Linked DNA regions of Homo sapiens: region 2 is linked to region 1. Evidence: promoter capture Hi-C in human tissues and cell types (Jung and others, 2019). All regions are on one chromosome and are shown on one strand. The core of a region is centred on a gene start or on the middle of the fragment in contact, and the rest is flanking DNA. Distances in the headings are between cores, read along the strand shown. Region 1 holds the start of WDR86 (WD repeat domain 86). Region 2 overlaps RHEB (Ras homolog, mTORC1 binding).

What was found. Contacts are between HindIII fragments. The study calls those that stand out against the background at their distance.
Region 2: a contact is called between a fragment that was not itself captured here and the fragment with the promoter of WDR86 in region 1, in 1 of the 25 tissues and cell types used here (IMR-90 fibroblasts).

Annotation. Positions count from the first base shown.
Region 1 is chr7:151,408,788-151,413,300 of GRCh38, forward strand. WDR86 (WD repeat domain 86) reads right to left here and starts at 1,251. Exons shown (of 6, transcript NM_198285.3): 1 at 640-1,251. The coding sequence starts at 802. It overlaps WDR86-AS1 (WDR86 antisense RNA 1), which reads left to right and starts at 374. Exons shown (of 6, transcript NR_109857.1): 1 at 374-595; 2 at 2,441-2,525; 3 at 2,883-3,005; 4 at 3,180-3,283; 5 at 3,932-4,065; 6 at 4,485-4,513. RefSeq lists an enhancer at 1,817-2,449. The HindIII fragment of the contact is 9,897 bases long and covers 1-3,173 here.
Region 2 is chr7:151,470,258-151,474,480 of GRCh38, forward strand. RHEB (Ras homolog, mTORC1 binding) reads right to left here. Exons shown (of 8, transcript NM_005614.4): 5 at 1,292-1,348; 6 at 1,137-1,184; 7 at 314-395. Among named protein-coding and RNA genes, the nearest start is that of CRYGN, 32 kb to the left of the region's middle. RefSeq lists a silencer at 1,539-1,588 and an enhancer at 2,809-3,068. The HindIII fragment of the contact is 3,622 bases long and covers 45-3,666 here.

The DNA of each region.
Region 1 (4,513 bases), core at 1-2,500:
ACAAATAGAAACCAACAGGCATGCAGGCAGGGTTTACAGCAATGAGAGGGCTCAGACTGCCATCTACCCCTCACTGGCTGTGCGACCTGGGCGAATTACTTAACTCCCAGCCTGTTTCCACGTCTGTATGTGGGGTAACATAGTGTGACGACGGCACACTTCTCCGCACCGCTGGCCCTTAACAAGCGTCTACTGTTGCTGTGAGAGTCGTCAACAGGAAATGCCAGCAGAAGAGCACAATTGGCCACAAAGAGGCCACAAGGCACCTAGAGACAAGGGAAGGTTTGCTTAGAAGGAGTATAGGTGCAACTTTTTGTTTGTTAACATTGTTGTCAAGGGAGATTTCCTGCCGCTGGTTGACAAATGATCTTCGCCTTTGTAGCGGACGCCCCTCGACCCACCCACCCGATCCCGGCCGCACCCTGCTCTGCACCCGCACCCCACCCCCAGACCTCACCCTGCCCTGCCGTGCGCTCAACAGCCAGATGCTGGGCCCAGACAAGCGCTCTTCCGCTAGTGTGCCGGGATGAGCGGGGGCTGGACTTCTAGAAAGGGGTCTGCGGGCGCAGGAGCTGGGGTCCGCGGTCTGGGGCCGGTGAGCTGCGGCGAAGAGGTCAGGGAGGGAGTGGGAGGGTCTACCTTGCAGGAGCGCGCAGCACTGGCCGTCCGCGGTGCTCCAGAGCCGGGCCGTGCCGTCCTCGCTGCCCGTCAGCAGGCGCTGCCCGTCGGGGCTCAGGCTCAGCCAGTTGATGCCCCCGCGGTGGTCGGCGCAGACCCTCAGGGCCGACCCGCCGCCCCCCATCCCGCTGGCAGGGCGGGGAACAAGAAGGAGCTGCGCCCCGCTAGGGAGGGGCGCCCCGGGGTCCGCGCGGCGGCTCCGTACGACTGCGGCCCGCGGCCATCGCGGGGAACGGGGAGCCCGACTCCTGCGGAGGCACGCGGCGAGGGGAGGGTGAAGGACCCTAGCTCCCCGCTGCCTCCAGCCTCTGGGCCCGCGAACCCAGGGCGCTGCGGGGGGCGGCCCACTCGGGACCTCCGCCCTGGGTAGAGTCCTGGGCGCGCGGGCAGAGAGAACCCCCTTCCCAGCACCGCTCGGAGGATCCACACCCCACCGGGCGAACAAGGCAGCTGCGTCTCTGGTGCACAAGGAGCCCCCCGCCTCCTCTCGCGCCCACGGGGCTGGGGCGGGGAGAGGAACACGGGAAGCCGAGCGCCCCGCGCCCTCCCCGGCCGAGCGCGGAACAATACGGTCCAGCCTGGCTCCTCCTCAGAGACCACCCCTCACCCGATCCCCTCCCACTTCTCGGGCTGCGCCCCAGCCCCCACCCCGCGCGCCTGCAGCCTCCCCCCTTCGTCGCTGTGCGGGTCCGGGGGACGGCTCCACGTGCGACCCTCCTAGCTGCCCGGGCTGCGCCTCTGGGCTCTGGCCTCTGCCACCTCCGCCGCCGCCGCCTGGGTCCCCTGAGCCAAGGGCCGGGACGAGGGAGGGGGAGGCGGACAAAGGGTCGGGGTCGGGGAGAATCGCGCGCCGGGAACTCATTTGGGGCGCAGCTCCACCGACCCCTCGGCTACTCGCCTCCACCAGGCAAGCCAGGTCCTCCCATGCTCTGAGCCCTAAGGACTCTGCCCGAGGGGCTCTCGGGGACTTGGGGGCGGTCCCCCAATGGAGGGTGCGACAGGGAAAGCCCCGAGTCCGCCCTCCCTGGGAAATCACGCGCACACCCAGGATTCTACTTTGGTCTGGCCGGAGTGGGGATGAGGTGCGAGCCGCTGCGGGGTCGGTGGAGCCGGGATGTCAAGTTCACCTTCCAGCCGCCGCGGGCTCCCTCGGCCTGGGGCGCCTCTAATGGACCCCGGGGTCGGCCTGAGCCCTCCCGGAGCGCCCGGCGGCTGGTTTCCATTAGGGCAGTTCCGGCGCCGACTTCGCTGGGGACGGGGAAGGTGACCCCCCTACTCGGATCCCCCAGGTCCTAAAGGTAGCAGGATTTCCAGAACGCTCCAGGGCTCTCTCAGGAGCCTAGGGAGAAGGGCAAGGAAGGGGCGTCTTTGGCGAGCTAGCCCGCAATGGGACGACCAGTACTGCACGCTCTGCTCTATCCAGACTCCAAAAGAAAACCCCATCGTGGGGTGTCCCAGGCCGTTGGGTCGTTTATACCCAGAGTGGCCTAACCAGAGAAATCCGTTCTTTTCCCTCAAAACTTGTAAAGCAGCTGGCGCCTCAGCTTAAGGAGCGTGGCCCTTCCTTAGCAGGTGGTGGAGAGAGGGGCAGTGGAGGAGCGTTAGGACGAGATTTGGGGTCATCCAGCCGGAGAGAGGGAGGCCGAAAGGAGAGACGTTTTCAGGAGGTGGAGGCTTCAGCATTTGGATGCCTGCGAGGCGGGAGAGGCCGGGGAGCCTGTCTTGTGCTGAGAGGCTGGGTAGACTGTTTTGTCCCCTACAGGCTGATCACCAGTTCCTCTTAGGAACCGGTGAACCTCAGGGGGCCCATTGCACATCCAGGTGTGAAACTGCGGTGTGGCCTCCAGGTGAGGACAGACTCGGTATAGTGGGGATCTTGGGCAGGCCCTGCGGCTGCAGCCCTTGGGGAAGGTGAATGTGAGGACCATGGAGGCTGGGAGGGTTTATCCGGAGAAGTGCCAGAGGAAACCCAAACTTTCTGGGCAGAGGGGCCAAGGAGAACCAGGCATCGACTCTTTTGGAAACTAAGAGGGGAGGGGTTTGAAAGCAGTTTGGGAGCTGGGGACAGATCGTAGGTTGGGCGAGCTTGCCTGGTCGTGGGCCAGAGGAAAGAACCACCAGGAGAAAAGCTTAACTTTCAAGGAGGTCACCCAGGATTCCTGAGCAAGGTGGCACCCATGCACTCTGGTTCCTCTCCTCTGCAGCCAACACAAGCCATCAGCCCCATGCTCAGCTCCCAGCAGGCAGAGCGTTCAGAAGCGCCAGCGCCATCATCTTGGGAGCCTGCAGTCCACACACCGCTGACCTTACCTACTTCCTCTTTCCAGGTTGATAGATTTTTTGTTCTTGGCTTCTCCACCTCCCCCACCCCTCCTTCTCCGGTTTGGCACAAAGTGGCCCCCTGGTGGGGATGAGCCAGCCATCTCTGGGGGTTGAGTCTGGACTGTAGAGCTGTGGGTGCAGATGTCCTCAGCCAGCCTGTCTTCCCTTTTCTCTTGCAGGTCGTAGATTACAGACTCTCCTCTGGGAAATTGCCCCCAGATCTAACAGGAGTACAAGAAGCTGGGTAGATTGGAAAACAGCACCGAATTCCCCTGGAACTGAGGTCTCCCCTAATTCCCCTGAAACTGGGGTCTCCCCCAACCTCCACCTTAAGATAGCAAAGCTATAGAGACCCAGGAGTCAGGCTGGGTCCCCAGCAGAACCTGGGCTCCCTTCCCCTTTCACACCTTTAACTCTTCTGGAGCCTCCAAGAGGGCCTGGAGTCCCGTGGTGCCCAGGCCCTCCTGGACCTAATCACTTTATAAATGGAAGGCACCTTGGGAAGGGAACCTGGTAGGGTGTAGGAGGAAATGGTTAAGCTTTAAGAAGCAAGAAATGGGCAGTGTTTAACAAGTGAAGGGTTGGGGGGCGGGTGCATTTTGTGCCAGGGAGTGCTCATTCCCCGTGCCACAGGGACTGCCACAATTTACCCTGCTGGAAAGAGTGACCCTCTGGGGCCTCTCTGAGAAGCATGGTGAAAGCTGGATATTCCTGAGTTGTGTGTGTGTGTGTGTGTGTAGGTGGTGACAGAGGGAGGCACCTTGAGGGGCGCCCACAGGGAACGTCATAGCCAGAGCTTTGTCAGAATTGCTTTTTCCCTTCTGGCACAACCTGCAATGCTGGTGGTGAGGGTGCCTGTGGTCATCATCTTCATAGTTTGGGTACTTACTGTGTGTCAGGTACTGTGCTAAGTGCTAGTATTTTTCAACAGGACGGAAGCCTTCCCAGTCCTGCAGCCACCTGCAGACTCTCACAAGCACGGTGCTCCCGGGAGAAGACCTTGCTACCCCAGGCCCAAGGCAGTCGAGAGAAAACGGGAAGCCCTGAAGGTTTTTCACCCCGGGGGTGAGAGTGTATGATCGAAGATATATTTGAGGGTAATTGTACAGATAGTCCCAACTTAGCATTGTTCAACTTTATGATGGTATGAAAGTGATGACATTCAGTAGAAATTGTACTTCAAGTGCCAATACAATCAGTTTTTCACTTTTGGTGCAGTATTCAATAAATTACATGAGATATTCAACACTTTACTTTAAAATAGGCTTTGTGTAAGATGATTCTGCCCAAATGTAAGGCTGATGCCAGTGCTCTGAGCACATTTAAGGGAAAGCTGGGCTAAGCAATGATGTTCCACAAGTTAGGCATATTAAATGCATTTTTGACTTAGAATATTCTCAACTTGCAATGGGTTTATCAGAACATGACATCGTTAATCACTCAAGGAGCATCTGTACCACTAATGACATAGATGCTGGTTGCAGGAAGGCAGCCAGAGGAGGGCACAGTGTGG
Region 2 (4,223 bases), core at 606-3,105, 62 kb after region 1:
TATGGACTTATTTCTGTACCAGCTATTAATACAAACCAAAAATATATGTTTACAAAAGGTAGTATTTCCTTTACTAATAGTTTCTGTTTATCCTACAAATATCCTAGGTTCCACTGTAAGTAGAATACTGACTGAATTTATAAACACCTAAGTAGTATCTTCCTAAAGCAACACAAAACTTGGTATTAGAAATGGAGGAAGGCCAGATGTTACACAGGAGTGATCAAGACAGAGGTCAAATGCCAACTGCAAGGAACACATCCCTGCGACTGATGAGAACGCAATGCAAAATGAGGTTTATAGAATCTGTTACCTGATTTTCTTTAGCAGAAGATTCCAAAAAAGCTGCATTCCAAGATTCTGCCAAAGCTTTCCCTTCTTCATAACTGATCACCCTAAAGAAAAAATAAAATTCTAGTTAAAGTACTTTGCTCTTCATTATATAAAACATGTATAATTGATTTATGAAACAGGCTCCATTTTGGTCAATTTCTTTCTCATGAAGCAGAACCATGCCCTGGCCTAACATTAGCATCAAGAATGTAACACAGGAGTGTTTTAATTACGCCTGAGCTGGGGAACAGAATAGACATTGCTTTATGGGATTATCCATGCTCCAGCAAACCTTCCAGCTCAGAGAACATGATCTTATTTTCCAGTACTCCCGTATCTGTAACAATTGACTATTTTACAGCTAGGTTGTAAGCACCCAAGGCCAGGGGAAATTGTGAAAGAGCCTGAAAGCTCAATTCTCTTGCATGCAGGCTGTAGAGTCTCTTCCTCTCTGACATGAAGCTGCCTGGGCAGGGGACATCTGCCTCCTTTGCTCCTCACTGTAATCCCAAACCCTGGTACTCAAAAACCACTTGCTGCATAAATGAGCACTATGTCTTTTTAGAATTTGCTTTATGCAAAGTGGCAGATAACCTAAAGGTAGTTTCCTATAAAGTTTGCTCTCTCTTTTCTAGAGGAATGTGAGATTTCTATTCCACTTTTGCTTCTGCTGCACACGACCATAACACCTCTGAACGGATAAAAATGCTACAGCTAAAAATATTCTTGACATCAGAACAATAATTAAAATGATACTTCAGTGACTAAATCATCTTAGATTTGACTTTATAAAAGCTACATACCTTTCCATATGCAGGTCTTTCTTATTCCCAACCAACATAATAGGTATTCTATTTGTAAGAAAAAAAAGACAAACCAGTAAGTGCCAGATTGTATTGCTCAGAAGATACTATTAAAAGAAGTTTCTCTAACAAGCAGATAAAATGGTACTACTTACTGTACTTTCCCCACCATATCCAACAATTTGCCATGGATAACTTTAATCACTTCAAAACTATAAAACAAAAAGTATAAATTAGACATCCATTTTAATGTTGAAGTTTTTAAATGTATGTTATGTTGCCAGCTGGAAAAATGTAAAATGTCACAGACTCACCATTTTAACATAACATAAAATGAACACAAAGAACTCCTGTTTTTTCCTAGCAATCCATTCACATGTGCATACATCTGACACTCAGCAACCCTGACTGAGGATATTCAAAGTGAAACAGGTAAGGCATTCAAACGGAAAGCCTACCACTGGGCTGAGAAACCACATAAATGCAAATTTTAATCACCCAACTCATTCAGCAAAGAACCAACTGTTTACATTACAACTTGAACAGCTTTTCCTAGAGTGCCCTAGTACATTCAGCCTGCTCCTGTGTTCTTTCCTAGGTACATACATTCTCTGGGTGATGCCAGTATCTCTTGGCTTTCAATCAGATCAATGAGCCGATGACTCTAGGATGGAGGTGGCTCTCACCGGGAAGGGGATCTGAGATGTCATAATGATCACTTGAAATCTGCCACAGCAGGATTATTTATACCACTGACTGCTGGCAAATGGCCACAAATCATTTTCCACCCTCCCCCAAAAAACCCATGCAAACATCTGCCAGCACATCACTGGCTCTACTTTCAAATCCTACCTAGAATCTGACGGCTTCTCACTCCCCTCCACTGCTGCCGCTGAGGTGTGAATTCCTGGCCCAAGTCTGCCTGCATCAGTTCCACAGCCCCAACCCTTCCCCGCCACCCCTGCTCAGCACAGCAACCAGAGGACTCTGCTGCAGCAGATGGACGGTGCCTGGTTCAACATCCTCTGATGGGTGGCCATCTTTACTCGGCCCCAGTGACTCTCAAGCCGCAAACTTCTGACCTCGTGATCCGCCTGCCTCGGCCTCCCAAAGTGCTGGGATTACAGGCGTGAGCCACCACACCCAGCCTCAAATGTCACTTCTTACACCTCTTCTGTTTACCCTAAATGACAAATTTCCTTTCCATTTCTTACCCCTTCCGTACTTTATTTTTCTTGGCAGCATGGTCACAGACATCCTATCTCGCATGTGTGTCGTTTTACTGTTTGTCTCCCACACCAGAAATAATAGGTCCGCAAGGGCAGGGATTTGTCTGCTTTGTTCATGATTGCATCACAAGCTTCAGAATAAGTTAGCTTGTTGAATGAATTACACACTGTGCTATTTTAAACGATGTGTGCTGTCATTTGATAAAAACAAAAATGAAATTTAACCCCCCTACAAGCTCGCTGTGGGTCAACAAATGGGATATGGGTGTCCTAAGGACCTGCGGTTGCATTACAGAACCACGGTTTCCTCCGCATGCTGTATTTGCCTATCTTTAAAAGTGTCGCCACTTGGGCAAAAATACAGTACCCTGTCACGTGAGAAACAGCTGAAAGAACTAGGACTGTGTGGCAGGCAGCTTGGAGCCGGCTCCCAGATCTCCTGCTCTCCTAGTGGCCACACTGTGTGTCATCTCCCTGCATGGACCTAGTGACGTGCGTCTAATGAACAGAATATGGCAAAGGTGATGGAATGTCCCTTTTGCGGTTAGGTTATAAAAGACAGTGGCTTGTCATGCAGGAAATTCCCTGGCTCTCTTGTGCACCTGCCCCAATGAAGTGAAGCACCTGGCAAGGAGCAGAGGGCAGCCTCAGGCCAGCGGCCAGCAAGGAACTAAGAAGCTCAGTCCAACAACTTGCAAGAAACTCAACCCTGTCAAGAGCCACGTGAACACGCTGGGAAACATCTTCCCCCAGGCAAGCCTTCAGATGGGACTGCAGCCCCTGCTGATACCCACACTGTGGCTCTGAGAGACTGAAGCAGAGGACACAGCTAGGCCACACCCAGATTCCTGACCCACAAAAACTGTGAGATCATAAATGTGTACTGTTCTAAGTGGCTAAATTTCTTGAGATCACTGATTTTCTGAATCAAACTGGTTGATTCGGAAAGTTTTACTGACGTATTTCTTGGATATTCATAAATATTTGTGTATTCAGCATACAGATTTCTAAAAAACAAAACACCACTCTTCTCATACTCCCTCATGTCTCAAATTTGAGAATGCTGATTAAACTACGAGCTACTAGAAAAAAAAGGCATTATTTAAAACAGCCCCATTTGTTCCCAAACCCACTTATGCCAGTTAAATTCATCATAGTCATAATTTATGTTGCAAACTTTTGAAGTATGTGTAGACAGAGTTTTGTTTGTCTGAAAACTAGAAGTTGAATACTGTGAGTTGATCTACTAAAAACGGTGCTCCTTAATAAGGTGTGCCAAACCAACTGAAAAAGACTGGTGGGGAAAATCACAGCAATCTAAATAGTTGAGGTGTAGACTGTTTCCCAAGCATCTCACTCGGAAGAAACCGAACCAGAAGTCATAATGGACAAATCGTGGATGTAGTCATACTGAACAGCAGTGGGTGAACTCATATTCAAAGATGACAATTTGAAAATTTCACAAGATGAGTGACTGAATGTATATTTATGCTTTAAAACAAAACACTGGAGATTGACATCACCTTTCCGATTTTTTTTCCCTTTAACCAGTGTTGTTTTTTTGTTTTTTTTTTGAGACACAGCCTTGCTTTGTCGCTCAGGCTGAAGTGCAATGGCATGATTTCAGCTCATGATACAGTCTCCGCCTCCCAGGTTCAAGAGATTCTCCTGCCTCAGCCTCCCGAGCAGCTGGGATTACAGGCACCCGCCACCACACCCGGGTAATTTTTGTATTTTTAGTAGAGATGAGGTTTCACCATGTTGGCCAGGCTGGTCTCGAACTCCTGACCTCAAATGATCTGCCCACTTCGGCCTCCCAAAGTATTGGGATTACAGGTGTGGGCCACTGCGCCTGGCC